6 separate regions of the Homo sapiens genome follow, and regions 2, 3, 4, 5 and 6 are each linked to region 1. Evidence: promoter capture Hi-C in 16 types of primary human blood cells and fetal thymus (Javierre and others, 2016). All regions are on one chromosome and are shown on one strand. Each heading gives the region's core, a stretch centred on a gene start or on the middle of the fragment in contact. The rest is flanking DNA. Distances are from core to core; before and after follow the strand shown. Region 1 holds the start of RSL24D1 (ribosomal L24 domain containing 1). Region 2 overlaps ARPP19 (cAMP regulated phosphoprotein 19). Region 3 overlaps ATOSA (atos homolog A). Region 4 overlaps GCOM1 (GCOM1, MYZAP-POLR2M combined locus). Region 5 overlaps ONECUT1 (one cut homeobox 1). Region 6 holds the start of ONECUT1 (one cut homeobox 1).

What was found. The method cuts DNA at HindIII sites, captures the fragments that hold promoters and counts their contacts. A CHiCAGO score of 5 or more calls a contact.
Region 2: a contact is called between a fragment that was not itself captured here and the fragment with the promoter of RSL24D1 in region 1, in 2 of 17 cell types (total CD8 T cells and activated CD4 T cells). The highest score is 6.1, in total CD8 T cells.
Region 3: a contact is called between a fragment that was not itself captured here and the fragment with the promoter of RSL24D1 in region 1, in 2 of 17 cell types (activated CD4 T cells and total CD8 T cells). The highest score is 5.9, in activated CD4 T cells.
Region 4: a contact is called between a fragment that was not itself captured here and the fragment with the promoter of RSL24D1 in region 1, in 4 of 17 cell types (naive CD4 T cells, non-activated CD4 T cells, naive CD8 T cells and 1 more). The highest score is 12.0, in naive CD4 T cells.
Region 5: a fragment that was not itself captured here is called in contact with the fragment with the promoter of RSL24D1 in region 1 in 2 of 17 cell types (total B cells and endothelial precursors); the score reaches 6.9 in total B cells.
Region 6: the fragment with the promoter of ONECUT1 here is called in contact with the fragment with the promoter of RSL24D1 in region 1 in 12 of 17 cell types (total B cells, M0 macrophages, M2 macrophages and 9 more); the score reaches 25.5 in total B cells.

The regions. Positions count from the first base shown.
Region 1 is chr15:55,194,701-55,199,412 of GRCh38, forward strand. It overlaps RSL24D1 (ribosomal L24 domain containing 1), which reads right to left and starts at 2,241. Exons shown (of 6, transcript NM_016304.3): 1 at 2,110-2,241. The coding sequence starts at 2,190. RefSeq lists enhancers at 1,361-2,252, 2,046-2,205. The HindIII fragment of the contact is 1,416 bases long and covers 2,227-3,642 here.
Region 2 is chr15:52,559,849-52,564,560 of GRCh38, forward strand. The region is part of intron 1 of ARPP19 (cAMP regulated phosphoprotein 19); the gene reads right to left. Among named protein-coding and RNA genes, the nearest start is that of ARPP19, 6.8 kb to the right of the region's middle. The HindIII fragment of the contact is 1,535 bases long and covers 1,472-3,006 here.
Region 3 is chr15:52,671,992-52,676,703 of GRCh38, forward strand. The region is part of intron 2 of ATOSA (atos homolog A); the gene reads right to left. Among named protein-coding and RNA genes, the nearest start is that of ATOSA, 5.0 kb to the right of the region's middle. RefSeq lists an enhancer at 1-102. The HindIII fragment of the contact is 293 bases long and covers 2,533-2,825 here.
Region 4 is chr15:57,707,445-57,712,156 of GRCh38, forward strand. It overlaps GCOM1 (GCOM1, MYZAP-POLR2M combined locus), which reads left to right. Exons shown (of 17, transcript NR_104371.3): 15 at 1,270-1,914; 16 at 4,540-4,712. It overlaps POLR2M (RNA polymerase II subunit M), which reads left to right. Exons shown (of 4, transcript NM_015532.5): 2 at 1,270-1,914; 3 at 4,540-4,712. Among named protein-coding and RNA genes, the nearest start is that of POLR2M, 3.1 kb to the left of the region's middle. The HindIII fragment of the contact is 4,237 bases long and covers 1-4,116 here.
Region 5 is chr15:52,770,616-52,775,327 of GRCh38, forward strand. The region is part of intron 1 of ONECUT1 (one cut homeobox 1); the gene reads right to left. Among named protein-coding and RNA genes, the nearest start is that of ONECUT1, 17 kb to the right of the region's middle. The HindIII fragment of the contact is 3,114 bases long and covers 1,161-4,274 here.
Region 6 is chr15:52,788,495-52,793,206 of GRCh38, forward strand. It overlaps ONECUT1 (one cut homeobox 1), which reads right to left and starts at 1,842. Exons shown (of 2, transcript NM_004498.4): 1 at 286-1,842. The coding sequence starts at 1,390. It overlaps LOC105370824 (a long non-coding RNA gene), which reads left to right and starts at 1,936. Exons shown (of 2, transcript XR_001751550.2): 1 at 1,936-4,195. RefSeq lists enhancers at 1,838-2,132, 2,129-2,897, 2,898-3,665 and a silencer at 1,880-1,949. The HindIII fragment of the contact is 8,870 bases long and covers 1-2,299 here.

The DNA of each region.
Region 1 (4,712 bases), core at 991-3,490:
AGAGTAAAAGGTGAAGTTTCTATTAATAACAGTCTCAGAAACTAAGAGAATAAAGGCAGAAAGACTAGTTAAAGCCTGGGAAACATAGCAAGCCTCTGTCTCTACACACACACACACACACACACACACACACACACAATGTTAATCTCCCCGTCTCTACAAAAAATTTTTTTGATATTGGGCATGGTGGTGCACACCTGTAGTCCCAGCTACTCAGCATGCTGAGGAGGGAGGACTGCTTAAGTACAGGAGACTGAGGCTGCAGAGAGCCATGATCACACATCTGCACTCCAGCCTGGGCAATAGACAGTGAGACCCTGTCTCAAAAAAAAAAAAAAAAAAAAAGGCTAGATAAGAGGCTATAAAAGTGGTAAGAGCCTAATCTGAACTAGGACAGGAAAGTAGAAAGAAGGCAAAGACACCACTATCTTTGCAGAGGCAGGATAGGTAAGACTTGATAACTAGATACAAAAGGTGAAAAGATTCAGACGACTCTCATGTTTCTAGCAAAACTATCCGGGCACTTAAGAGTGGTATTAATTCACAGAGCAAAAAGATCTGAGGTACTAAGGAATTCTCTTTCAGTAGGCCCACTGTACCTACTGTTAGGTACATCCAATGGAAAATTCAGATTTGGAGCTCAGGAGATTTAGGTTTGGAAATCAAGCATAAAAAAAGATGAGATACTTGTTCTTTGTTAGTGCTTCAGGCCCTCTATCTTTTATTTCCTCCAACAACTCTCTTCTGGATCCACTGGTGACTCCCAACCAACTCAACACTGTCCTTATTCTTCATCAACTTAACTTCCACTGTGTCTACCAAATCAATACCCAGGTCTTGACAGTTCTCACGATCTGTTGTTCTAATTCCAATATCCAGCCGACAAGCATCCTGGACGAAAATCACAAAATCGTAACGACATCATGTATAAAACCATACTGCCTACTCTGAATTAGACCCCAACCTGGCAATCTTTTGGTTCATTTTTATAAACTTCTTATCATGTTCCTGAGAGCAAGTATTCAAAATCTTCTAGGTTCTTTTACGTTATCAAACATGGCTTTGGTCCGTCACTTTCAGCTGAATCCCTTGGATCTAATTAATGAGGTCAATATCTTTGATCTGTTACAGAGATATAAGGTGAAGAAGTCAGACTTGTAATTATTTAGCACGTCAAATTCACCTTAATATACAGATTCTTAGACCCTCTTCCCCTCCCCCAAAGATTCCAACTCAATAGATCTGGTGAAAACCAGGAATCTGTAAACGCCCAGTAATTCAGAAGCAAACGTAAGAGATCAAATTCTGAGAAACAATGTGTTTCTCTGAGAAAGAGAGGAACGGGATTCATTCTGTAATGACAGGACAAATTCATGTACCATTCAAAACGTCTTTCACAACTAGGACTCATATTTATTATTTACGTTTACAGACTTATTATACTTGTAGCCCTACGCCCAAGGCTCTATCATCATTTACAATCCAGTCACTTCCTCAAACAAATGTATTTGCTCCGTTCTCTGCCTTTTCTCAAAATGTTCACTTTCCTTCCACTTAGAAGGCCCCCTCCGCTTTCTTCCGCAAAATTCAGGATCCAAGATAAATATCACCTCTATGCTGAGTCTTTCCGTACAGGACCCTCCCCAACTCACCTGCAGTAACTTAATACATAACTCTACCATTAAGCAATACGGAACACTTCCATCAACCTCTACACTTTAGTATGGACCTTAGTGTAATGCCTGACAGGGTATACACTCAACAAAGTTTACTGGATTCAAGAATTTGGCCCAAGTACATGAGTGGCCAAACAGCCCTCACAGACATCCAAGATTCCTGGTAGGCGCTAGCTGGGATCGCTCCTGAAGTTCCTCGCTGCCAACGCCACCCAAGGGTGGCGTGGTGGCCAGCGCCGCTCGGAAGACGGGCAAGGAGAAACCCCCGAAGCGGAACGTTGAGAACGGAGGCCCAGTTAAGCCACCCTCCCAGGGGAACAACGGGAGGAACCCGGGCCAAACACGGCAGACGCAGAAGCACCCAGCACCGAGCCGCCGCGCCCAGGAACCGCGGGAGCTAGGCTGAAGCAAGAACTGGTGTCGACCGCCTTACCTTGCAATCGTTGCGGACGAACATCATGCCGTGTCCAGGATAGATGGGCCCCGAACAGAAATAACACTTTTCGATACGCATGTTGAACCCGCGTGTAACCCCACCAAACAAACGCCAAGCTTGAGAGGAAGTGATGCAACCCCGTCACCGGAAGTTACCTTCTTCCCCCTTCCCCGACCGGAAAAAGGCAAGCGTCCTTCGTTCTCGCGGGTCTGTTAGACCAGATGCGAACACGACTGTGCCTCCGGCGGCCGTGTGGTCAAATGCGCTGCCGTTTGACGCAGGCGCAGAGCTGCAGACTAGACCTGTTCGCTGTTACTTTGGGGAAATGTGGTTCTGCGCCACCTTGTGAACTTGCTCTCACAGCGCCTAGTTTTTTCTCTCTGTGTGTCGGCATTTATGCAAGTATTATGTATCTTTGGTTTGTGCTTTGCCTCGGAGTGCTCTCGAGAGCACTCTCTTAACTCATTTGTCTACTGCCTGCCCTAGACCAGCCCTCGATTCTCGTCCCACAGTGATTTGCAGGGTGTAAGCGGCGAAGACCCTGCAATCCAGCGTTGCTTCGAACATTGCAATGAAAACGGTTGAGTTGCTGATGCTCCAAGGACTTTACCAGCAATTTTTTTAAATATAAAATCGTGTTATCCGCCTCCCCCCCATTTTAATTAATATGCATATGTAGTAAACAAATATTTTCGCCGGAAACTACGACTCCCTCCCTAGACCTGCGGTCTTCCTCCCCAGGGGCAAAACAGTTCCATTTATTACCTGCCAGAGCTTTTCTGTGCATAGGCAAACATGTATATTTGTGTGTTTGCCTGTCTCTACGTCCTCTTCTTTATAATACTAGTTAATATGCTATTTACTCTTTTCTGCATCTTGCTGTTACCTTGTATCCCTTCATTGGAATGTGAGCTCCATGAGGGGCAGGGATTTCAGTTCGTTTGGTTTACAACTACATCCCAGTATCTAGAACAGTCCCTGGCACATAATAGGCATTTGATACATATTTTACTGTAAAAGGGTATTTAACATTCTTTTTCATATATATATGCCATTGTATGAAAGTATTTTAATTGGTCACTAATCGATGGGCATTCTTATCTTTTGATATAATAAGTATCTGTTGGTACGCTTTTTCAGGAGAGGGTTTATGTAGAACTGCTGGATCAGAGGAGCTGGATATAGATAAATAGTTTTAAAATTTGGCAGATAATACTAAATTGCCTTCCAAAAGTTTTTACCAATTAACACTCAGCATCAACAAATAAGATGTCTGTTTCACTACCCCGCTGTGAAAAGTGATCTTTGCCAACCTGAGATGAAAATTTATCTTATTATTATTTCAACTTGAATTTAATTACAAATGATGTTAAGAATCTTTCACAATGTTTTTCAGCTTTTTTCTGTGAATTGCCTGTTCAGGTCCTACGCAGTTTTCTATTCTTTCGTTGATTTTCAACAGCACTTTACACGTTAAGGTTAGTCCTTTGCTGACATGCATTTAGAAATTATTTCCCTATCAATGTTTTAAGCTTTGCTCATGGTATTTTTCCATGCAGAAATATGTTGTTTATATATTCAGATTTATCCAATTTTTTTATGATTTTGGATTTGGTACTTTCCTTTAAACTGCACTTCTCACTCCAAAATTGTTTTTCAAAATGTTTTCTCTTATGTTTTGTAGTTTCATTTTTTTGCATTTGAATTTTCAACTCGTCTGGAATTTAAGTATAAATGACATAAGACTCCAGTGTCTTTCCCTCAGTGCTGTATGTTGATAAAGCATCCTTTCCCCCACTCACTCATAATGTCACATCTATGGCTCCATTTCTGGACTCAGTTCCATCGTTTTATTTGTTAATGTGCCACTGCCCAAATATTTAAATTATTGTCATTTTTTGAATAACTGGGTTTACCTCCTCTCCCTTTCTATTAGTTTTCATGCTGCTGATAAAGACATACCCTAGACTAGGCAATTTATACAGGAAAGAGGTTTAATGGACTCTTTATGGCTGGGGACACCTCACAATCACAGCAGAAGCCGAGGAGGAGCAAGTCAGGTCTTACATGGATGGCAGCAGGCAAAGAGAATGAAAACCAAATGAAAGGCGAAACCCCTTTAAAATAATCAGATCTCGTGAGACTTATGCACTATCATGAGAACAGTGTAGGGGAAACTGGCCCCATGATTCAATTATCTCCCACCAAGTCCCTCCCACAACACATAGGAATTATGGGAGCTATAATTCAAGATGAGATTTGGGTGGGGACACAGCCAAACCATATCACCCTTCCTTCCTTGTCCTTCTTATTCATTTTTTATCTGGCTATTCTTCAACATTTATCTTTTCATTTTAACTCTAGAATCAGTTTGTATAGTTATAATCTTCAAATACACACATTTTTCCTTTTATTGGATACTTTTTCTTGTCTAGTCATTCGACCAGTAATTCCAGAGTAATGTTAAATAACAAAGGCACATACCAGAAATTTTAGTAATAAACATCTGCCCAATACTTTATTGTCAACCAAGAGACTGAAAATTATTTTACTTTTCTTTACTCTTCCTCTCCTATCCTCCTCAACAATTATGGAAGAGC
Region 2 (4,712 bases), core at 989-3,488, 2.6 Mb before region 1:
CTGGCTTCAAATAATTTTGGCTGAAAAGGATCCCAAGCTAATTGTCACCCTTTAGTCCCTGCACCTTCAAATTAAGGGTGTTACTGGAGTCCTACATTTCCAATAAAAATTCAGCTTTCTTGAGCCTAGGAAGTGAGAGCTCTCCACTTCTTCCTTTGATTTGAAATAGTTCTCCAAGTCTAATAGTTCCCCGAATTCCTTAAAAATTTTTAAAGGAAAATTGTATGTAGGTAGCAACTTACTCTGGTTTCCAGTGTTTCTGCAGGTTTCCTCCATTTGATATATAAAGGAAAATACCTTGTACACAATCCGGGCATTCCCTTATTTTCTTTTTCTTTTTTTTTTGCCATGTTGGCCAGGCTGGTCTCGAACTCCTGACCCCAGGTCATCTGCCCGCCTCGGCCTCCCAAAGTGCTGGATCACAGGCATGAGCCACTGGGCCCAGCCGCATTCCCTTGTTTTCTTAATAAGGAATACATTGATATATCATATTAAGCATGCTTAATTAAATTAAAAAATGTTTGGGTAAAACAGCATCTATGAGCTGCAAATGTCATTTATATTTAGAATGAATTTATAACATGTCTTAGAAAAAAACAAGCCGATTCTTGAACTTTCTTGCCAAATACATAGCACAACTGAAAGCCCCTGCTAGCTGCAACTTCCTAACTGGATTCAGAATTTCAGTTGGATTTAACAGGGGGGAAAAGATGACCTAATCTAGATTTTTAAATGTGGTAAACACCATTAAGACTTCCACAAAAGTTTTCATGAATCCTACAGAAACATTCTACAGAGCTAGGCAGTTCTAGGACCTTAATGATAAGTTAGTTCAAGTGCTTGGACATGCATTAATATTCTGACAGTTACTGAGTTCTTATTAGGTTCTGTCAACGGCATCTATGCCAGATTAAAAGGCATGAGAGAAAGAATCCATTCTGCTCCTGGTGATGCCACCACCAACAGCAGACAGCAGTCGCCCCTGTGAGCTCCTACAGAGGGACATATGGCAGATAAACAGGGGCTCTAGTAGCAGCTACACGACAAGGGAGGCAGACGATGGTGGACTCTGAACAGTACTCATCCTTGCAGGGTCAAAGGCTTTCTGTAATCCTTACCTCTGGAAACACCATCTTCCTCCCTTTTGTTCCTCTATTCCTTCTAATAATTTGTAACCTTATTCCCTAAAAATCATATTCCTTCCTTTTTAAAAACATGCAAAGTGGTTTCTGCTCCTGTCTCCCAACAGGACACTGATAAAAGCAGGTAAAATAAGCGATTTATCCACAGTCATGTTCAAAAATGCAAAATAGAACACAATTTGATGTGACTCCACGTTTCTGGACCTCAAGGGAATTCCTAAACATTTACTTAAGCTAGAATGAAAACAAAGGGGAGATAAGCCAATAGTTATTTATTTGTTTATTTTTTCCAAAAAGAATCACAGAAAGATTAAATCATAAACTAATCAAGCTTTGGGTTAAATAGGTTAGGATGTAAGGGATAAAGGACAGGAATGACTATTACTAAACAAAGAAAATTGGTATATACATACACATATACTGATAACAAGTCAATATTGTAATTTTAATATCTTTATCATGTGGAGTTAAAAAAGAAAAGAATACTATAACAGTACCATATTTTTAGTTTAAGTGTTCTATGGTCCTGTATAATTTAGAAAAGGGTTTATAATCTTAATTTTTACATCTTGTTTAGTTAAGAATGCATGAAAAATTTCAAGGGGAACCAATTAAATAGCAGAAATAAAAAGGAGTGTTGGGGAGAGCAAGAAAGGAAGAAAAATAAAAAAAATTTTAAATACCAAAAAGAAACCAAACATAAGGAGAAACAAATCCCAATATGTTAATAACCACAATAACCATACTGAAGCAACAGACTGTCCATTTAAATCCAGTGGCTGGATTAAGGAAAAAAAAAAAACCTAGCCACTTGTGGAGTACACATTTAAAAAAATCTAAAAACAAGGACATAGGTTGAAAGTAAAAAGACTGAGGGTGGGTGGTGGTGGTAACATACCAGGCAAAAAATCCTTACCAAAACAGAGCTAGTGCAGTGCACCTACTTTTTTTTTTTTTTTTTTTTTTATTAAGATACATGGTCTTCCTATGTTGCCCAGGCTGGTCTAGAACTCCTGGCCTCAAGCAATCCTCCTGCCTTGGCCTCCCAAAGTGCTGGGACTGCAGGCGTGAGCCACTGTGCCACTAATAAAATGGCATGAAAATATACAAAGCAAAAACTGACAGAACTATAGGGAGCAACTGACAAGTCCACTACTATGGAATTCAACACAGCTTCCTCAATTATTGATAGCTATAAAAGATAAAGTAGTTAAGATACTTGATTTTAATTTTACATCTAACAATTAGGGAATGCATAGTCTTCCACAGCACAAATGGAAAAACTGACTAATACTAGGCCATAAAGCAAATCTTAACTATTTTCTTCCAGACCACCATCTATGACTGCAATTCATTAAAGTCAGTAACAACAAAAAAATTATAAATCTCTAATATTTAGAAATTAAAAACATACTTCTAAATAATTCCTGGTTAAAAAAGAAAGCACGAGTATTTAAAAAAAATAGGAGTTCTAGACCTACCCGGGCAACACAGTAAGACCTTGGCCTTTACAAAAAAAATTTAAAAATTAGATAGGTGTCGTGGTAGATGCTTATATGCCTATAGTCCTGGCTGCTTGGGAGGCTGAGGTGGGAGGGTCACTTAAGCCTACCCTGGGAGACAGAGTGAGACCCTGTTTCTTTAAAAACAAACAAACAAAACCCTACACATACCAAAACTTGTCAGGTATAGCAAGTATCTCTCAAGGGCTTATATCAGAGAAGAAAGCTAAATCTCAATGAGCGATGCATCCAATTTAAGAAGTTAGACAAAGAAAGGAGCCCAAAGAAAATGGAGAAATAAAAAGCAGAAATTAATGAAAAAGATACAATAGAAAGGGCCAACAAAGGGGGTGGATATGGCAAGCTTAAGAAGTTTTTTTTTTTTTTTTTTTTGAGACAGAGTCTCACTCTGTCGCCCAGGCTGGAGTGTGGTGGCACGATCTCGGCTCACTGCAACCTCCACCCCTCCCCACGCTGGGTTCAAGTGATTCTCCTGCCTCAGCCTCCCGAGTAGCTGGGATTACAGGTGCCCATCACCGCACCTGGCTGATTTTTGTATTTTTAGTACAGACAGGGTTTCACCATCTTGCCCACGCTGGTCTTGAACTCCTGACCTCGTGATCCATCTGCCTCTGCCTCCCAAAGTGCTGGGATTACAGGTGTGAGCCACCGTGAAGAAGTATTTTTTATGATTCAAATCTGGTTTTGAAGTTTCATTCTCCAAGAAGCCTTTGTGTTACACAGCAATTTTACTACATTTTAAAAATAGATGCTGTAATGTAAATGGATTTACTTAGGTAAGTAGCTTCTAAATTGATAATAGGGTCCGCAGAAGGCAGAATTCTGAACTTTTGGCTATTGGCTACAAGCTGGGAAAGGAACCCCAGGATATGGTAACACAGATACATGTTTACACACAGATACATGTATACGATGTATGTATCCAAAAAACAAAAACAAAAATCTTAAGAACAGTATTTTTAATAATAGTTATTGTCTCGGCATGTGCATTTTTGTGAATTGTACCACTGAAATACATCAGAAATCCTTTCTGTGAATAGGTGGGGTATAAGTTATAAATATATACACGTAAAAAGGACACTCAAATAACTAAGGATTATTTTGTAGTCTATTATACACTGAGCAGAATTATGTCTCAATGACTGATACCACTTTTCAGCCTTCGGCAGAGGAGGGTTATACAGCAACGTCAGCAATAAAAATCTGACCACTCTAAGCAAATTCTCCTCTATCTGCTCAGCAACATGTTGACTGATGCACTGATTGACGAATAACTAGAAAGGATTAATGAAAGCCAACAAATCCTTTGGGATACTGCCAGGAAGGTACCAATACTGTATCAAGCTCTATGGAAAATTACTGTTGTCATTCTATTAAGTCTTTGTTTGCCTAGTGCCTAGCATTTAATGAATGTTCAATAAAAGTTCATTCATCTGAATGAAAAAATACAATGTACTTGTTTCCATAAAGCTATAAAGCTAAGAAACTTTCTTCACACTTGAGGATTTCACCATCAGCTCATCTTTAATATTTTATGTTATAGTAAACACAGCTTCTGGATTAGAAGTTAAGTATTCAAGTCTTGCACAAACAAAAGAAGCAACCCTAACAAACTGTTGTATCGCAAACTGCTAAGACGGCTAAGAGAAACATTTAAAAACTTTTCTGAGGTTTACCTCTAGGCTGTTAGGAATCGATGGTTGCAGAGACCAAGGGAGCATGTTGTGTTCACTCTGAATAGAAATAGAAAACATGGATGAGGCGGTTGCTCACACCTGCAGTCCCAGCTACTTGGAGGCTGAGGTGGGAGGCTAGGTGAACCCAGGAGTTCAAGGCGGCAATATGCTATCATTGTGCCATTGCACCCCAGCCTGGGCGACAGAGTAAGACCCTGTCTCAAACATAACAAAAACATTCTTCAGCCTTTAGGTAACCAAAAGTAGTTGTCAAAAGAGCTCCTGAAAATACCAATATGAACTCCTATTTTTAAAATACTGGAAGCATGGGAAAACAATTTATATCTCTTTATGGTTGATATATTAAAATA
Region 3 (4,712 bases), core at 1,429-3,928, 2.5 Mb before region 1:
TATTTTGATTATCTGCTGGCATTTTTTACCTATTCCATCCTGTTTTACTTTAATAAGAGTCTGGGCCAGGTGCAATTCCTCACACCTGTAATCCCAGCACTTTGAGAGGCTGAGCCAGGAGGGCTGCTTGAGCCCAGGAGAATGAGAACAGTCTGGGCAACATAGTGAGACCCCATTTCTCAAAAAAAAAAAAAAAAAAAAAAGACAATTAGCCAGGCATAGTGGCGTGCACCTGTAGTCCCAGCTACTCTGGAAGCTTAAGCAGGATGATCTCTTGATCCCAGGAGTTGGAGGCTACAGTGAATTATGATTGCATCACTGTACTCCAGTCTGAGTGACACAGTAAGACCCCATCCCATGAAAAAGAAAAAGAAAAAGTCTAACATGAGGAACTCTTCTGATTTTTCACCTATTTGAGCAAAGATAGAATTAACTATTAACAAATTGACTTTGGTTTACCTACTAAGAAGTACTGTTTCCAAGTACTACAATTTTGCCTTTTCATTATCCAAAAAAAAAAAAACCAGTATTGTTAGTCTGAGTTTAATATTTCCAGTTTTTAAAATCCCCAGCCTCAAAAAGGGTGAAAACATTTTCATAATTAGATCCAAAGGCGAGAAAGGCAAAAGAATATAAATATTCTTTAACAACTAATTTTTTTCTATATTTGTTCACAATGCAGAAGGCTCAGACCCCATGGGTTTCTTCAGTTCTTGAAGAGAAAATCAATTTTTAAGTCACTCTCCTTATATACACATTTGCCTTTCAGTTCTGCCTTCCAATTATCTTTTTTTTCTCATTCTTCAAAGAAATGACAGGGTTTAGTCCACTGAATCATTTCCTTCTTACTGGATGACAGGCAAAAACATAGATGGGGTATCTCTACGTCAACCCCTTTAGTATCTGAATCTCAGAAGTTGTATCAAGCCATTGATTATTTGACAGCTACTGATGCCAAGACTCATCAACATAAATGGATGAAAGAACAACAGTAGCCAGCTTTTAACTTGTGATCACACTGAATATACAAAACATGCAGCTGAATTAGCCCCCTTTTGTCTTCCTCAGCTTTCACTAACTGACTGGTTTCTTCTTTAGAAAATGTCCAAAAATAATAGCAGTTTACATTTGAATGCTAAGTGCCAGCCACTGTTTTAAGCATATTACACACATTAACTTATTTAATCCTCAAAATAACCATGAGCTGAGGTACTATTACTTTCCCTATTGTAAAGATAAAGCTGAGGCAGAGAGGACAAGCAGCTTTCCAAGATCACAATACTTACCAAATACCTGTTTGGAGTTTTCCTCAAGTATTTTTAAACCACTTTGGTCCCAAAATCTTATGGTATTTTAACATTACTTACTGCTACCAGTCAGGGAGCTTAAGAGCATATGCTCAAGTTCACTTCACATTTGAGCTTGCCCTTTTATTAGCTGTGTAACCTTGGGTAAGTTACCAAACTTCTCTATGACTCAGTTTCGTTTATCCATAAAACAGAGATGACAATAGCATCTATTTCCTTGAGTATCTGTGAGGATTAAATGAGTTATATATGTGAAGTACTTAAGACAGTGCCTGGCACATAGTATGAACAAGTATTAGCTGTTGCTACTCATACTATCATGACCACCTCTACCTGGGAATTTAGCAAAAGGCCGCTTTATTTAATCTAGTCAGTATTTCTTCTCCAACATCTGCCATTTCTTTTGTTTGATTTACATCAACTAACAATGAACTATTCTTAGCAAGCAATGCACCTAATTGCTTTGCTACATTTTTCTAGTCCTTAACACTTCTTTCCTATTTCACCTGCCCAGGAGTGAATTGTTTGAGGTTAACAGGGTTGCATTATGCTATAGTTAAGTTCATAAGCCACTGAAATTCTAAGGCTAATGTCTAAATTTGTAATATAGCCAAATGGAGGAAAAAACTAAGCACTTCTCTATTTTAACCTCAAAAACAAAAACCACAAAATAGTGTGGTGTTTTGTTTGTGGAACAGATTTTGCACTACTAGTTTTAACTTAAAGATCAACAGCCTACAATGTTTTTAAATATGAATTAAAACAGTAGATTTAAATTACTAATTTATGATTTATTTTATAGGTCTTAATCTTTCATAGCAGTTTTGATTAAGCTCAGATATTAAAAATACAAAATTAGAAATACATTTAGAACATAACCTAATATGTTTTTAATTACCTCTACACTAAGACCACATTTTATTTATTTTTAAATAGAGATAGGGTCTTGTTATGTTGCCCAGGGTGGTCTCGAACTTCTAAGCTCTAAGCAATCAACCCTCCTCGGGCTCCCAAAGTGCTGGGATCACAGGCATGAGCCACCGCAACAGGCCGTGGACCACACCTTAGACTTCTCTTGAAACACCAGGTATTCAATATACACACAGGTCTAGAACCAGGTCCAAACTTGTACATCCTTGAGTCAAAGGTGGAATAACATTAAATTTTCCAGCTGCCCAGCTCTAGTCAGCTGTTAACATCACTTAAAAATCTAATTATTCCAGAAAGCTTAGTCCACCCATGTCATCCTCTACATATAGAAGCCATAATTGTAATAGCAAATGACAATATAAATACATTATACATATACTGCAAGTATCCTTCTGTAGCTTTTATATTTTCTCAGATAACTATATATTAAAAAATTATTAATCTGCTCGAGCCTTAGCAGTTTGAACACTATCAATGCAAAACAGAACAAAATAGCATTAGGTTATTAAACATTTCATTATTTATTTACCTTTGTTGAGTATATCTTGTAATTGACCAATATATAAGCATTTGTAATGCTTATATATAAGCTTATATAACCAGTATATAAGCATTTGTAATGCTTATATATAAGCTTATATAACCAATATATAAGCATTTGTAATGTTTATTTAACATAATAAACGATATTATTTATTTAATATCTGCTATGTGCCAAGCACGGTCATATTTCATTCTAACTGTGAGAAGTTGGAATTATTCCCATTTTACAGACAAGGAAACTGAGACTCTCAGAGATTATGTGATGAAGATTAGAGAGCAAGCAAGTAATGGAACAAGTATAAAAACACAGGTCTGCTAATGACAACATCTAAGACTCATCTTTGGCAGTGTTACCCAAGTAATGTTATATTATTGCTTAAAATTAATTTTTTTTACAGTACAGTAAAATACTATCGTACAGTAAAATACTATCGACTATTGTGAAATCTATCATGCTATACCATAACATCTTATTTCAAAGTACAGTAGAAACTCCTGACCTTCAGATAATTTTTTTCTATTGGCTATCAGTTTGTTTTTATGGAGGCTGTAGGGAGCAGAATTGACCAATGCTCCCCACACCTTCCATAAAAACAGCCAATAGAAAAAGAATTAAGGCATTTTTCCTGACCCCCACCTTAAACTTTTACAGTTAGCCAACCAACTACCACACCCAATCATGTACGATAAGAGGCTATTGTATTTATTTAGAAACTTTAACTCTTTGAAGCACAGCTGTCTTTCACAAAACTATAATCTGAGTCTCTACATTAAAATCCACACTTTACTCACACTCTGAATGAGCATCTGAGAAGTTCTCCTATTTATGTTCATCTTATAGAAAACTTAGTGTTAGGCCGGGCGCGGTGGCTCACGCCTGTAATCCCAGCACACTGGGAGGCCGAGGCGGGCGGATCACGAGCTCAGGAGATCGAGACTATCCTGGCTTACACGGTGAAACCCTGTCTCTACTAAAAATACAAAAAATTAGCCGGGCGTGGAGGCGGGCGCCTGTAATCCCAGCTACCGAAGGCTGAGGCAGGAGAATGGCGTGAACCCGGGAGGCGGAGCTTGCAGTGAGCGGAGATTGCGCCACTGCACTCCAGCCTGGGCGACAGAGCGAGACTCCGTCTCAAAAAAAAAAAAGAAAAAGAAAAAAAAAGAGAGAAAACTTAGTGTTAAGTACGGTTATCTAATTATCTAGCTCAGAGACTAAAAGCAGGAAAATTAAAAGGTGACAAGGATAAATATATTAACAACAAAAACTGTTGACAGCCAGGGAACATAAAAATCAGAATAAAAAAAGATAGGCTGAGATGGTTTAAACTAGAGACAAAAAAATCTCAAACCAGAAGCGTGAACATTTTTTAAATGTCTCCACATATCATGATTACAACTAAAAATATTTTGACGTTTAAAAAGTTTCAATTATCCAGAAAATTCATTTATATAGGATAGTTCTTTGGACACCAATGTAGTTTAAAAAAAAAAATGAAGTGTAACTGTTTTCTCGTTAAGAGTTGTCCATAACTCTGCCTTTCAAATTGCAGGTCATCATGACCCATTAATTGGTGAAGAAATCAATTCAATGGGTGGTGACAGCAATTTTTCAAAACGTGAAATAGAATAGAAAATACAACATTACATTGCGCACAGTAAGGGTAAGTACGTTTGTGAAAAGCTTATTTCAATATTTCTGTACTAGTTTGCTAAGTAAAAGATTACTTACACTGGTTTTAGTAAAAGAAAAAAAAAGCCATGGGTCTAAAGGTTTATGTTATTATTATGGAATATAATCACAATACTAAACTCACAATCCCATCATCTTTACCTGAGAATGCTAAAGAAAGCTACAATTTTTAAGGTGAAAACTTCTTTGGAAATCTTGATGAATAAATTTGTTTCCCCTAAAAATCTATATCAGTACGTAAC
Region 4 (4,712 bases), core at 748-3,247, 2.5 Mb after region 1:
TAAAAGTGATTTTGTTTTTTAGGCAGCTTTGTTCAGCAGCTTGTTGCAAAAGATGGTTTGAAGGAATAAAAAGCAGAAGACAGTAGAAGGATATTTTCAGAGAGACTTCCCACGAGACACTTGTAAGAAAGTGAGCTAGGAAGGGATTGGGAGAACTTTTAAGCATGGACTAATTTAAATGCAGTTGACAGAGATGGCTGAAGTTTCCAATCTATATGGAAGACCACTAGCAAAAATAGGAAAATTCAGGGAGAGGAATAGATCCAAGGTTGATTTTACTTAGGGTGTGCAGAGTTGAGAGGAGAGCAGGACAGACATTTGGTTAATCGAAAACCAAACACTTAAAAGCTGGAGAAGTAGTCATGAGGCTCAAGAAAGAGAGAACCCTGGAAAAATACAGAAAACAGGAATTTCAGCTGTAGAGTGTTGTTAATAGTTGAAATTGTGGGGATGAATGTAGTGTCAAAAAGAACAGAGGACTTAAGGTGTAATTTTTTCTTTCCATTTATTGTATAGTTAAAGAAAAGGGAATCAGAAAAGGAACTCTGTCATCCAGCAAAAGGGACAAATAAATAATTGGTTGGGATCAAGACATGTGTTTTGACCTTGTGAGAATAGGTTTTGAATGTATAGCAGTGAATTAACTTTTTGGTCTCAGGACTCCGTTATACTTTAAGAATTATTGACATCCCAAAGAGCTATTTTATGTGTTGTATCTAGCGAAATGTATTTACTTATCAGAAATACGTCTGAAGTCTTTAAAACATAAGCATACACAAGCACACATTCTATTCTAGAACAATGATGTCATCACATGCCATGTAGCCTCTGGAAAACTCCACTGTACCCATGCGAGAAAATGAGAGGGAAATAATATCTTAGTATTATTATGAAAGTAGTTTTGACCTAATAGGCCCATCCCCACACTCCACCCCATCCCCAAATTTTGGAGATTGCACTTTAATGACTGCTGGTTCTTGGAATGTCTTATGTGATTATTATATGCTTAAAATACTTTTGCTGAAATTCTAATTTGCTGAGACAAATGAGGCATATATTCCCTATTCTTCCTGCATTCCCTTGTTTTTTGGGCTATTTGGATAATGACCATTTTAATTGTTTTATTCTTGTTTTGGGGCAGTTAGAAATCAGATATTTGACTTAAAAATCAGCTTTTCTTTCTTTGAAGATAATGCCTTGCCTTTTTAATGTTATATCTCAAGTTAAAAAAATGGCTGTAATGTAATAGTATTCTTTTCCATTTGACAGAAAATTCATTTGCAAATTGCCCGACAAAGGTAAAAAGATCTTTGACTCTTTTGCCAAACTGAAAGCTGCCATTGCAGAATGTGAAGAAGTTAGAAGAAAAAGTGAACTGTTTAACCCTGTTAGTTTAGACTGTAAGCTAAGGCAAAAAGCAATTGCAGAAGTTGATGTGGGTACAGATAAGGCCCAGAATTCTGACCCGATACTTGATACTTCATCACTAGTTCCTGGATGTTCCTCTGTAGATAACATCAAGTCATCTCAAACCTCACAAAACCAGGGACTTGGACGTCCTACTCTTGAAGGTGATGAAGAGACTTCAGAGGTTGAGTACACAGTGAATAAGGGCCCAGCTTCCAGCAATAGAGACAGGGTACCACCTTCATCTGAAGCTAGTGAGCATCACCCGCGGCATCGTGTTTCAAGTCAAGCGGAAGATACTTCCAGCAGCTTTGACAACCTGTTTATTGACAGGTTACAGAGGATCACCATTGCGGACCAAGGTGAACAACAGTCAGAAGAAAACGCAAGTACTAAGAACTTGACAGGCCTTTCCAGTGGGACTGAGAAGAAACCTCATTACATGGAAGTGCTAGAAATGCGAGCCAAAAACCCAGTGCCCCAGCTGCGTAAATTTAAAACCAATGTGTAAGTACCCTCGGAAACAGGCCTGTAACAGGAACGTGATATTTGTTAAACTCAAAAATTTACGAGAAACTGGGTGTGGTGGTGCTTGCCTGTAGTCCCAGGCTACTCAGGAGGCTGAGGTGGGAAGACAGCTTTGAGTCCAGGAGTTGTAGACCAGCTTGGGCAATATAATAAGACCTTTTCTCTTAAATAAGTCAGGAGAATGCTCTAAGTTCCGTGGGCTTTGTATGAGAACTACTTGTAGTTAGGAAATAACATGTTGTGGCAACACTGAGACCAGCCTGGCCGGAGTAGAAGATTCATGTTGAAAAATATTTAGTTTTGAAACCAAATAATCGACAAGGTCTTTTAAAGCACATGGGGGAGTGTTAAATTTTAGGATGCTTAGCCAGTATTTCATAATAAACACAGAGTTGGAGAGAATTTATTATGACTTCTTTTTTTCAGAACCATTTTTTAGTGTACAGCTTTGATTAGTGTACTATCAAAGTGTACTCTCTTTGATTAGTCTGTGAACTAAGGGTAAAGCAATTGCAGGAGCTGATGGGCTTTCCAGCAGAAATTATTTGCATGCTCACTGTATGTAAGCAAGCAGCAGGTGTTGTGGGGACACAATTAAGTCAAGATTCTTAAAACTCCTTTGCCTTTTTTGATGTTAAATCTCAAGTTTAAAAACATGGCTGTAATGTATACATGTGTAATGTAATACAATACCATGTTCTTCAAGGAGTTTAAGAGCTACATGAGGACCCAAGGTTTACACACTTGGAAAAGAGTTAAGCTACATAATAATAACAGTTTCAGGGGGAAGGAAGCTGAGAAGAGGTTTGAAAAACTGTGAAAATAGATTCAGGCAGGATAGGCAAAAACTCTGCTTATCAGTTCCTTGCCATAAATTTGTTTCTGAAATTTCAGGAAAAGTAAAATCTTTTTGAAAATAATTGCTATTTACTTGCAGCAAATGTAACATTCAACTCAGGTAACTGGTACCTTCTTCCTATATTGTATTTACAAGTATGTAACATCAAAGTTAAATCACTACTACCTTTCTTTGAAAAACAGAAAACCTCTAGTGAAAAGTATCTAAAACATGCTTCTTTTTTGTTAGACTTTAATTCTACCCCAGCATTCATTTTAACCTCAAAACATTTTATTTCTGCTGTATAGAAAATCAGGATTATACTACATTAACGTGATCAAGTACTCTCTTGTGTACAGTGGGGTATCTTTCTTCACTTCCAGGATGACATTTTAGAAAACTAGAACCATCATCTAGTCAATAAATAAAACAAAGAATACATTAATCCCAGTTCTGTATTATGGTCATTTAGCTGGGAGTGGGAGAGAGGTAAGGGAATAGTGAAGAGGGCTACCAAGAATTCAGGAAGTTTAAGAGACAGGGAGCCTCCTGTATAAGTTAGAGGAGAACAGGAAAGGCAGGGCTTTGAGGAGTCCTTAGGCCATAGACAGGTAGGGATTGAGAGGGTTCCGTGTGAGAGGTGGCTTGGAGGTTGGAAGGTGGGGTCAGGTAGTGTCCTTTGGGTCCTTTCTGCTCTTCCTTCTGCATACTCTTCTGGCTTCATGTATCACCTGGATGCTGGAGGCTGACCCCTGTGCACCTCTATCCCAGATCTTCCCAGAACTTTAGGTTTGCATAGCCAATTAACCATGAAACTTGATCACTTGGGTGTTCCCAGGTACCTCAGCTTAATGATGTACAAAGTGGAACTGCAGTTTCTTTCCAAGGTGATTTCCATATTCCCTAATAGTGCCACCACCTTCTCGGTTTTCTTCCCCTAAGGTATCTTCGATTTTTCTCATCTCCATATCTGCTAGCCATGAAGACCTACTTATTTCTTTGATCTTCATCTCTATAATTGTTCTTCATCTTCTGTCGAAGTGAAGACTCTCATCTCTCTCGGGCTGTAATTGTGGCCCCTTCTACCTCTAGTCTTAACTACCAGTCTATCTCCACTGCTGCCAGAGTGAAATTTGTAAGATGGAAATCCGAACTTGTTACGGAGAACTCTTCATTGCAGTCTGGGCCTAGGCTACTTCCCAGCCCTCTTTCTCGCTGTCTTTTCTGTGTAGCCAGAAAAGCTGAGTCTGTCTACCTTCTGTACTTTCTCTCACTCCCCTTGCTGGGATGCACTTCTCTCCTTATTTACATGGGTAAGCAGTTATTATTCCAAGACTGTTCAAAGCTTTTTTGAAACTTTTCTTAGCCTCCCTGTCTCCCACTAGAACTGGCCATTTCCTTATGTTCCAATGTATCTTGTTGAGATATCTATCACAGTATCTCTGGTATTGTATTGCACTGAAACTTTACATGTGTATTTCTTTCTACTGGGCAATAAGCCCTTTTGCAAATGTTCTTTGAATAAATGAAAAAAAAAAAAAAAACTCCAGATGAAATACAAGGTTTGAATAAGGAAGGAAAAGGCAAAGAGCCTGTATGCACACAAACACACCCCTATTTGTTAGAGCAATGAATACTGGTAAATTACTTACTGTTACCTTTGGAGGAGAATTAATTGCTAAGGTAAAGGCCATTTGTGTGAATGTTTTAAATGTGTCTACAAATAAAATAATCTGATTGTATAACACAAGTTTTCCTTTCATCAGGTTACCTTTTCGACAAAATGATTCATCTAGTCATTGCCAGAAGAGTGGGTCTCCTATTTCCTCAGAAGAGCGGCGGCGCAGGGATAAGCAGCATCTTGATGACATCACAGCAGCTCGGCTTCTACCACTTCACCATATGCCCACGCAGCTGCTCTCCATAGAAGAATCCTTGG
Region 5 (4,712 bases), core at 1,468-3,967, 2.4 Mb before region 1:
CATTTTGGAACCTCATCCTATACCTACTGTCTCTGAGAGTGAGATTCACAAGCCGATATTTTGTTTTTTAATTAATTTTTTAACGTGGAAAAAAATGAACTTTAATATGGCTTAAAAATACCACAAATCAAATCCAAAGACAAAAATTGAGAAGCAGTTGTAAAATACACAATAATTTCTTTATACAAATCACTCAGAAATAAAAGAACATCCAGGGCAAAGGATATGAACTCTGTGTCAGTTTATGAGAGAGAGAGAGAGAGAACATTTATTTTAATTTTTTGTCTGAGCTTGGCAAAGATTTAAAACCTTACTAATCCTCAATGTTGACAAGAATAAGGAGCAATAGGCACTTTTGATGGGAACATCAATTGGAACAACTGTTCTGAAAGATGATCTGCATTTATATCAATATTAAAATATATTTACTTTTGATCTAGTAATTAACACTTCTAGGAATTTATTCTAAGGCTATATTCAGGCAAGTGCTCAAAAATATAAGTACACATATTCATCATAGATCCTTTTATAGTAGTGAAAACTATAGGGAGTTAATCAATGAATTATGGTAAATTTGTGTGTGCAAAGACTTGCTTACCTATGACTACATCCCCAGAATCTAGCTCAGTGCTTGGTCTATATATGAACATTTATTGAATAAATGAACAAATAAATATAGTAGAAAATTCTATAGCCATTAAGAATGATGATGTAGATGTATATTTATTGCAGTGGAAAACTATTCATCCGATCTTACAAAAAGGACAAGCAGATGACAAAACTGCATAGATAGAATCATCTCATTTTTGCATAAAAAGCAAGTGTGTGTGTGTGTGTGTGTGTGTGTGTGTGTGTGTCTGTGTATATATCTATGGAAAAAAGTTTAGAAGAATGTATACCAACATATAAATTGTGTTTCTTCCTAAATGGTGAGATTATAGATGTTGTTTGCATTCTTATTTATATCTTTAAGTAATGTCTGTTTTTTTTTACAATGAGCATGTATTAACAGATGTAATTTTGATAATCACTAAATTTTTTTTTTTCATTTTTGTTCCATAGGTTATTGAGGTACAGGTGGTGTTTGGTTACATGAGTAAGTTCTTTAGTGGTGATTTGTGAGATTTTGGTGCACCCATCACAGGCAGATATTTTAAACAAGCTTCTCAGTAATTTGGATGCCCAATAAATTGGAGAGCCACTTGCTCCTAGGACAGTATTTTAGACCTTTCCAAGCTCAAGAGAATTACTCCATACTTTGGCAAAAACACAGGCTGACTAAATCAGAATCTTAAGAGTGGCCTGGGAATCTGTGCTTTGAGAAGAATACCAGGTAATTCCTGTGAGTTCAGGTCCAGGAAAGCCTGCTTTGTGGGATCTTTCTGTGGGACTGGGCCCAGGTAACCCTCCTCTCTCCCCACAGTGAACTTGTACTTGTAAAACCCAGCTGCATTGATTGTCATAGACAACCTGGCAGAGGAAAAAAAAGCGAGATGTGGCCGGGTGCGGTGGCTCACGCCTGTAATCCCAGCACTTTGGGAGGCCGAGGCGGGTGGATCATGAGGTCAGGAGATCGAGACCATCCTGGCTAACACAGTGAAACCCCGTCTCTACTAAAAATACAAAAAATTAGCTGGGCGTTGTGGCACACACCTGTAGTCCCAGCTACTTGGGAGGCTGAGGCAGGAGAATCGCTTGAACCCGGGATGCAGAGGTTGCAGTGAGCCAAGATCGTGCCACTGCACTCCAGCCTGGGCGACAGAGCGAGACTCCATCTAAAAAAAAAAAAAAAAAGCGAGATGTGTGTGAAGTTTGTTCACGGAGTTCATTGGAGGCAGAGGGTTTTGTTCTGTGATTATGATGAAAGAGGAAGTTGGGTGAGAATGGAGGAAAAGATCAGAGTAATGGCTGTGAGCTTTTTAGCGCTAATTGACAGGGCCTCCTTCATCTTGACTTGTCTGAATTTACTGCCAAGTGCCTAACATGGAAGGGAGGGAGCTGTGGGACTGAAGGGCATCCCTGTGGGCAAGTAAGTGTATCTCATGCCCAGAAAGAGGAAGAACAAGGTTTTTGTGCCACTCCTTATTATCCACCGGGCTGGCTCCAAGAGATGAACTAAAGAACTGGAGGGTTTTTGTTGTTTTTGTTTTAATTTCTGCAGCTCCACACCCATGCTGTGACAGGAACCCTATTAGTTTGTACTGGGCTTGTTTTAGGGTTGTTACATTTAGAGGATGTTTAAAGTGTTATTTTATATAATAAGACGTGGCATGAGTGCACACACACATACGCATATAACAAACCCAAGCTGCATATTTTGGCGTGTGCTTATCAAGCTGTAACATGCATTAGAATCACTTCCAGGGCTTGTTAAAACGTGACAAGCCAGAGTTTCTAGCCAGAGTTTCTGATTCCATAGGATTTCTAACAAGCTCCCAAGTGATGCTGGGGCGTGGGTATGGCAGGTGGGGTGGGGAGAGAGAACTGCAAATGAATCTTAACTAAAACATTTTTAAGCAGGTTTGTTTATTTTATGGGTATGGGCAAAGCAATTTTGAAATGATTTTAGATGTATTACAGGATTGAGCAAATGAGTAAATGTGTGTGTGAGAGAGACAGAGAGAGAGAAAGAGAGAGAGAGAGAGGTAGATTACTGGGTACCAGAGTTCCCACTGTGCAGGAAAAGACATATAAATAGGGAATGGGGGAAGGCAGGGAAAAATCCTCTGAGGATATATTGCAATTGGAGGTGGAGGTACTGGTATGAACTAATGATTTTAGAAATACGTACATGAGCACGTATATAAGCATGTTTATGCGTACATGGATATTATGTATGTATGATGTGTATACACATATTTGTATGTGTGTGTAAATAAATGTATATGTATCTGTTTCCTGGCTTTGTCTGAGAGGGTAGAAAACCAAAAGTCACCCTAAAGCCATGAGCACACTTAGTGCCTAGGCTGTCTTGGACTCTAACATGTTTCCCCACCAGGATAAACCAGGGCTCATCAAAGAAGTGGCACATTCTAGGATTGGGGCAGAATATGTACCAAATGAGCTTGGAACATCTTATGATGCCAGAAAGTTAAAAAAAAATGTAAGCATTGTCATAGGGACACAGGAGTCAGAGGGAAAGGGCTCTCGTCAGTGAAATCTGGGACAATTTGAGCACCAAAATAGTTAAGTACAGTAATGAATTGTAAGCCACTGGAAAAAAAAGGAATGCCTGAGTCCACTCCAATCATAAATGGATAATGAGAGAGAAGGAAGGCTCTTGCAAATATCCTCTCTCTCTATCTATATGTTGAATAAATGAATGCTATTCATGATATATTTGGGAAAGGACAGGGATGATGGAATTACCAGAGATTTTTTATTGTCTCCATTATTCTTTTATGTGTTTTCAAATACTCCACCATAAATTTAATAATGGGATTTTTTAGTTTGAAAAGTTACAAAGTAGTAGTATGTACCATCCCATAGGGAAAAGATTGGAAGGATACACACACACACACACACACACACACACACACACACACACACAGAGGGTTATCTGTGTGGGGTGCTGTGGGTGATTCTTTTATTTTTTTTCTTTATTAGTGTTTTACCCTGCAGCTCCAGCTCAAAGGATGTATATAATACTAATAATTTGCAACAAGAAATGAAGTTATTTATTTATTTATTTATTTATTTTTTGAGACAGAGTTTCGCTCTTGTTGCCCAAGCTGGAGTGCAATGGCTTGATCTTGGCTCATTGCAACCTCCGCCTCCAGGGTTCAAGTGATTCTCCTGCCTCAGCCTCCCAAATAGCTGGGACTACAGGCAAGCGCCACCATGCCCAGCTAATTTTGTATTTTTAGTAGAGACGGGGTTTCACCATGTTGCTTAGGCTGGTCTTGAAATCCTGACCTCACGTGATCCTCCCACCTCGCCCTCCCAAAGTGCTGGGATAACAGGCGTGAGCCACCGCACCTGGCCAGAAGTTACCTTTTAAAAAAGCATTGAAATTAAAACATAAATTAAGAAATAAGATACAAGGTGCTTGAACATGGTAAGTATCAAACAAATGTTAAAAAAAATTTACTAAGGCTATGTCATGACAAAAGCAGAATTCAAAAAAGTATATATAAGCGGTACAATAATTAACTTTTTGGAAAAAATCTCCACCCTTGTGTTGAGGGTAGTGCTCCAAAATGATATTGTAGTTGTGTCTGAGTGTATTTATTACTTTAAAAGAGGAAACTGTATGGTAGATATAATGTTTTATAAGCTTGCATTTTGAACATCTTTCACACATTGAATTGTCTTTCATAAAAGAGCTAGAATAAGAGGTTGAGGTGGGCAGATCACCTGAGGTCAGGAGTTCAAGACCAGCCTGGCTAACATGGCGAAACTCTGTCTCTACTGAAAATACAAATTGTAGCCTGGTGCAGTGGTACACACCTGTAATCCCAGCTACTCGGGAGGCTGAGGCAGGAGAATCACTTGAACCCAGGAGGCGGAGGTTGTAGTGAGCTGAGATTGCGCCACTGCACTCCAGCCTGGGTGACAGAGCAAGACTGTCTAAAAAAAAAAAAAAAGAGCTAGAATAAGCTAGAATAAGGGGACCACCACTGAAGCACTTGGGAGCATTTTCAACCTACGCAGAGGGGTGGTCACCCTGTACTACTTCTCTTTTAATTTCATTACTCAGATAATTGCACTGG
Region 6 (4,712 bases), core at 592-3,091, 2.4 Mb before region 1:
ACGAGCTTCCCTCGCTGTCCCTGAGCGCAAATGAGCCTCTTCAGTCGCCGAGGCCCGGCCGCTTAGCTCTCGGAGCCTTCCACAGCCCAACACCCTGAGCCCTGGAGTAGGCAATTTGCTCCCACAGCCCTGTGCTGGCCCTTCCAGGCACAGGGAGTCCCCCTTCTAGGGGTAGGGGCGGGCGGGATGAAGCGCACCCAGCCCTCTCTCCTACCCTTCCTCCTTTGGTCCCTTCGGCTTTCGTGTACCTTATCTCCCGCGCGCCCAGCTCCTTGGCCGGCTCACCTGCTAAGCGGAGCGCGGACATGCGCTGGAACTCCGGCTCCTGCAGCCACTTCCACATCCTCCGGAAGGTCTCCCGGCCGGATTTGAGTTTGCTCCAGGGTTTGGGGTTGCGCAGCAGGTCCGAGAGGGTCCCCTGGGAGCGGCAGAGCACCCTCTGCGCGAAGATGGCCTGTGGGATGCTGTAGCGCTTGAGCTCGGTGGTGATACGCTGCGCCACCTCTTTGGTATTGATCTCTTCCATCTGCCCTGAATTACTTCCATTGCTGACCTGCGCGCCGGTCACCGAAGGGTTGGGCTCCCGGGCTGTGCCCAGGAGTTGCCCGTGGCCCTGGGCGTTCAGGTGGGCGTGGGGATGGTGCGGAGGAAGGCCGTTGATGGGCACCATGCCGGCCGAGGTGGGCGTGAGGTGCTGCTCCCCGTGGCGGCCGAGCATGGCCGGGTGGTGGGCTTCGAAGCCGTTGGGGGTGAGCATCTTGTCGGTGGGCATGGCGGCCCCCGGGTGGGCATAGTGGGGGAGCCCTTGCTGGGAGTTGTGGATGCTGCCCAGACCGGAGCTGGAGAGGGGCGAGAGGCTCTGGCCCATGCCGGCCACGTCCTTGTGGTAGGGGGTATAGAGGTTATTCATGGAGGCCAGCCCGCGCTCATCCCGCATGAGCGTGAAGCTACCGCTCACGTTGCCCGCCAGGCGCTGGTGGTGGTGCGGGTGGTGGTGGTGATGGTGGTGGTGGTGATGGTGGGGGAACTTGTCCGAGACTGTGGAGATGGGAGGCAGCGGCTGCAGAGGGGTCAAGGTGGTGTAGGTGGTGGGCATGCTCATACCTGGGGGAGTCTCGCAGGCCATGGTCATGGTGGGATGCAGGGGGCCGGCCAGGCTGTGCTCAGGGGCCCGGTGGTGGTGGTGGTAATCTCCGCCGCCGCTGCCGCCGTCCAGCAGGGACGCCATGCCCATGGAGCGCGGGTGCGCGGGGGGCAGGTGGCTGCCGCGGTGCGCCACGGAGCTGCGCGCGTGGGGGCTGCCGCCCAGCAGGTCGGCAGGGGCGGGCACCGGCTCATGGCTCACCCCGTGCAGCTCGCCGATCGCTTCCATGGTCAGCTGCGCGTTCATCGTGATCCGGGCGAGCAGGCGGCGGACACAACATCGATGTGGCCAGGCAGAGGCGGCGAGGGGCGCACGGAGTCCGGTCTTCACATCGGCTGCTGGCGACTGTTGCCTTCCTTCCTCTCACTGTGGGGCTCTGTCTCTCTCTCTCTCTCTCTCCGTGTGTGTGTGTCCGTGTGTGCGTGTGCGTGTGTGTGTGTGTGTGTGTCTCGCCTTCCCTCTTACCCCCCACCTTCCCCTCTGCGTCCTCGGCTTTTTTTTTTTTAATATTAATTTCCAAAGAGGATCCGCGCCGTTGGGAGAGCGCAGTGCCCCAGCCCGCCCGCCTCGGCCACCTCTCGCCCCTCTCTTTCTTAAAATTCTGAGGTCTCCGGCTCCCCTGCCGCGGCCCGCGCGCCTGCCGCGTCTGCTGCCTGCCCGCCCCGCTGGCCAGCTTGAGCCATGGCTCTGTTACTGTTACAGACTCTGTGGCCGCGGTTCGGTAGCCGCCGCCGCCGCCGCCGCAGCGGCCCGCCCTCACGCCCGCCAGGCGCAGCGCGCATGCGCGAGGCCCGCCCCCGCCCCCTAGGTCGCGGCGCGCCAGGCCCTTGGCGTCCCGGTACAAATGAAGGAGGGGGCCCAGCGCCTTCCCTGCGGCGCTGGATGGCCAGGGAGCTGCGGGCACGTGCGAAAGATTGGCGCAGAGCGCGACCTGGGGCCGCCGCTGCAATCCCAGGAGACTCGCGCCTGGCTCGCTCGCCTCCCTTGCTTGAGTGGGCTCTGTCCTCCCAGCCCGGGGACGCTCGTGTCGGGCTTCTAGCGGCTGGAGTGCTGTGCTTGGAGACATCGCCCCTCTCTCTCCAGTTGCTGCTTCCCGGTGCAGCTTGCCCGGGGAGCTGGGGACTGTGTCATCACCCCTTCGGCTCTAGCCCACTAAGCTTTATTTCCCGGGGGGCTGCTGGGAGTGCGCTTTCCCACCCTTGAATTCACGGCCTATTGGGGGATGGGGGTTGGGGTGGGGTGGGGTGCAGATTGCTTAAAGGGCTGGGTCCGTTTGGCGGCCGTTGACCCGGCACCCTTCGTCCTCCCAGATACATACTTGCCCACCCTTTCTCATCCATGCCCTGGGGAGAGGAGTAATCAGTGCCAAGAATCCCAGTTCGGGCCATACCTCACTGTCCCCCGCCGCCTGGCTCCTTCTCCCGCTCAGCTCATAATTAAGGCTGTGCGTCCGCTTCGCCGATGACTCGGCCTGTGGAGGGGGGCGAGGGAGAGCGGAGGGAGTGCCCTGGAGGGTACCCATGTTAACTTCCGGGTGCTGGTGGGGCCGTGGAGGCTCGGGCCGTCCCTGCGGTTACTCCCAAGGCCCTCCTGCTAAAGCACCCGGAGGCGGTTGCTTTCCAGAAGTACTGACGCAGACAGGGTGGACGCCGGCGCGCGGGTCTCCGCTTGGCCCCTAGGGACGCCCTTTTCCCGGCGTCCCCGAGAGACGCCTCCAGATTTGAAAATCAATTCAGCTTCGGGAGTAATTTCGCCCTTCCCACAGTCACGCTCCAATCTGGAATCGAACCTGGTCTTTGGGCCTGGTGGGGACGTGTGCGGAGGCCCCCAGTTTGAGACGTACACCCGGCCGCCACATGCCGCGGCTTTCTTTCATTTACAAAAGAAAGAAAAAAAATCCGCAACAAAAGGCAGAGCCGTGTCCGCTTAGGTGCTTTCATCCCTCAGAGAAAGGACAGATGTGCCCATTGTCCAGCCCGTGGCAGTTATGGCCGGGTCAGCGCCGAGCCTCAGCCCCAGGCAAGCGGTGGTTACAATGAGAATAGCCTCTCAGAGCCGGGGTATCTGGACTCAGATATGGAATAAAGTGTGTGTAGCCTGTGCTGGGCCAGACTCAGACTGTAGGTTTGCTTGCTGGGGCACCGAACTGCAGCCCACCCGTGGTGTTTCCACTGCAAATGCTCCCAAGCCCTTAGAGAGGCCAAGGCTGTGGTAGTGGTGGTAGTTGGGTTTCCAAGGCAAAAGTTTGGGCTGGCCAACCCTTTGGGAAAAGTTCCCACCGGCCCAGGCATGAGTAGGCCTATCTCTTTGCCCAGGTCCCTGCTACCACCAGGGCAACATCCTAATCCAGGTAGGTCAAGTTCAGTGGATACAGTCAACGTGACTTCCTTGAAGGCGGCCATGTCCTGGGACTGGTTAATCTAGCTGGTTTTATCACCAGAGGCACTCCCATCCTGTCCAAACAATGCATATGGAGGCCCTGCAAATAATTCATCTCAATGGATTTCATGTCTACTTTCATAATGAACAGTTAGGAATTTAGGAACCCCCAGAGAAGAAAAGATATTTTAGGGAAAATACACTGATGTAAAGGAACTCAGAAAACACGATTAACTCTTTAAACTTGTATCTATATCTACCTATTCATACACGCATACACACAAGCACAAAACATATATTTCCTGCCTAGTATATTACAGTACCTTGGTGGAAAGCTGCATCTTTGGTTTTTAATTGTTTCCATTCTCATTTCCTACAGCATGAGACCAAACAATGGGTTAAAGTAGCAGGGAGTCTTTCAGCTAAACAGTTGTCCCCCCGCCCCCGCCCCAATATTTTAATCCCGCTGAAGTGATTGATTTGCCCTTATGACAACTATCTTCCCAAAAGGCAGTTTGTTAAAAGAAAGAAAGAAGTAAATACCACCAAGTGCACAAATTGTTCATGGTTTTCTCTTTGTGTAGCTAATTAGGAACTTGATCTTGGAAACCCTCCTTCATGAGAGGCACTCAGCTGAGCCTCTGGAGTCCACCTGAATAAGGCTGGCATCAGGTGAGCTCAACTTCCCCTCTCCCCCAAGGGCATTTATGAAAAGGGGGGCTGGCTCTGTGTTGGTCCCTAAAGAAGGAGCCAACGAAAAGACCTGGAGAAGCACCATATGTGTTGGCTTGCTCAGTAATTTTTGATTTTTTTCTAAAACATTAAAATATTGTATGTGCAGGATTTGCTTTGGTTTGCAAATCTCCCTAATCTTTCTTGGCTATTCACACCATTTATCTAACCATTGTTCTCCCGTAATTGACTGAGTTGCAGTGGTTTCTCAGTCAGAAACAACATATTACTGTGTTCTTATTTGACCTCTCAAAATTTTTCTTCTTACTAAGGAAGTGACGGGTAGGAAGAATGCTCTTCTTAGGCCTAGTTAAGGTGAATTTGCATGTGTGGAGGGAGGACGGGCACTAGAGAGATTGTTAACTGCTGGAAGGCTGGGACTACTTTCTGTCGTTTTGTCCCTCTCCTTCTTTCCCCCTTCCAGTGCCCAGAACAGAGCCTGGCACCCATTAGGTAC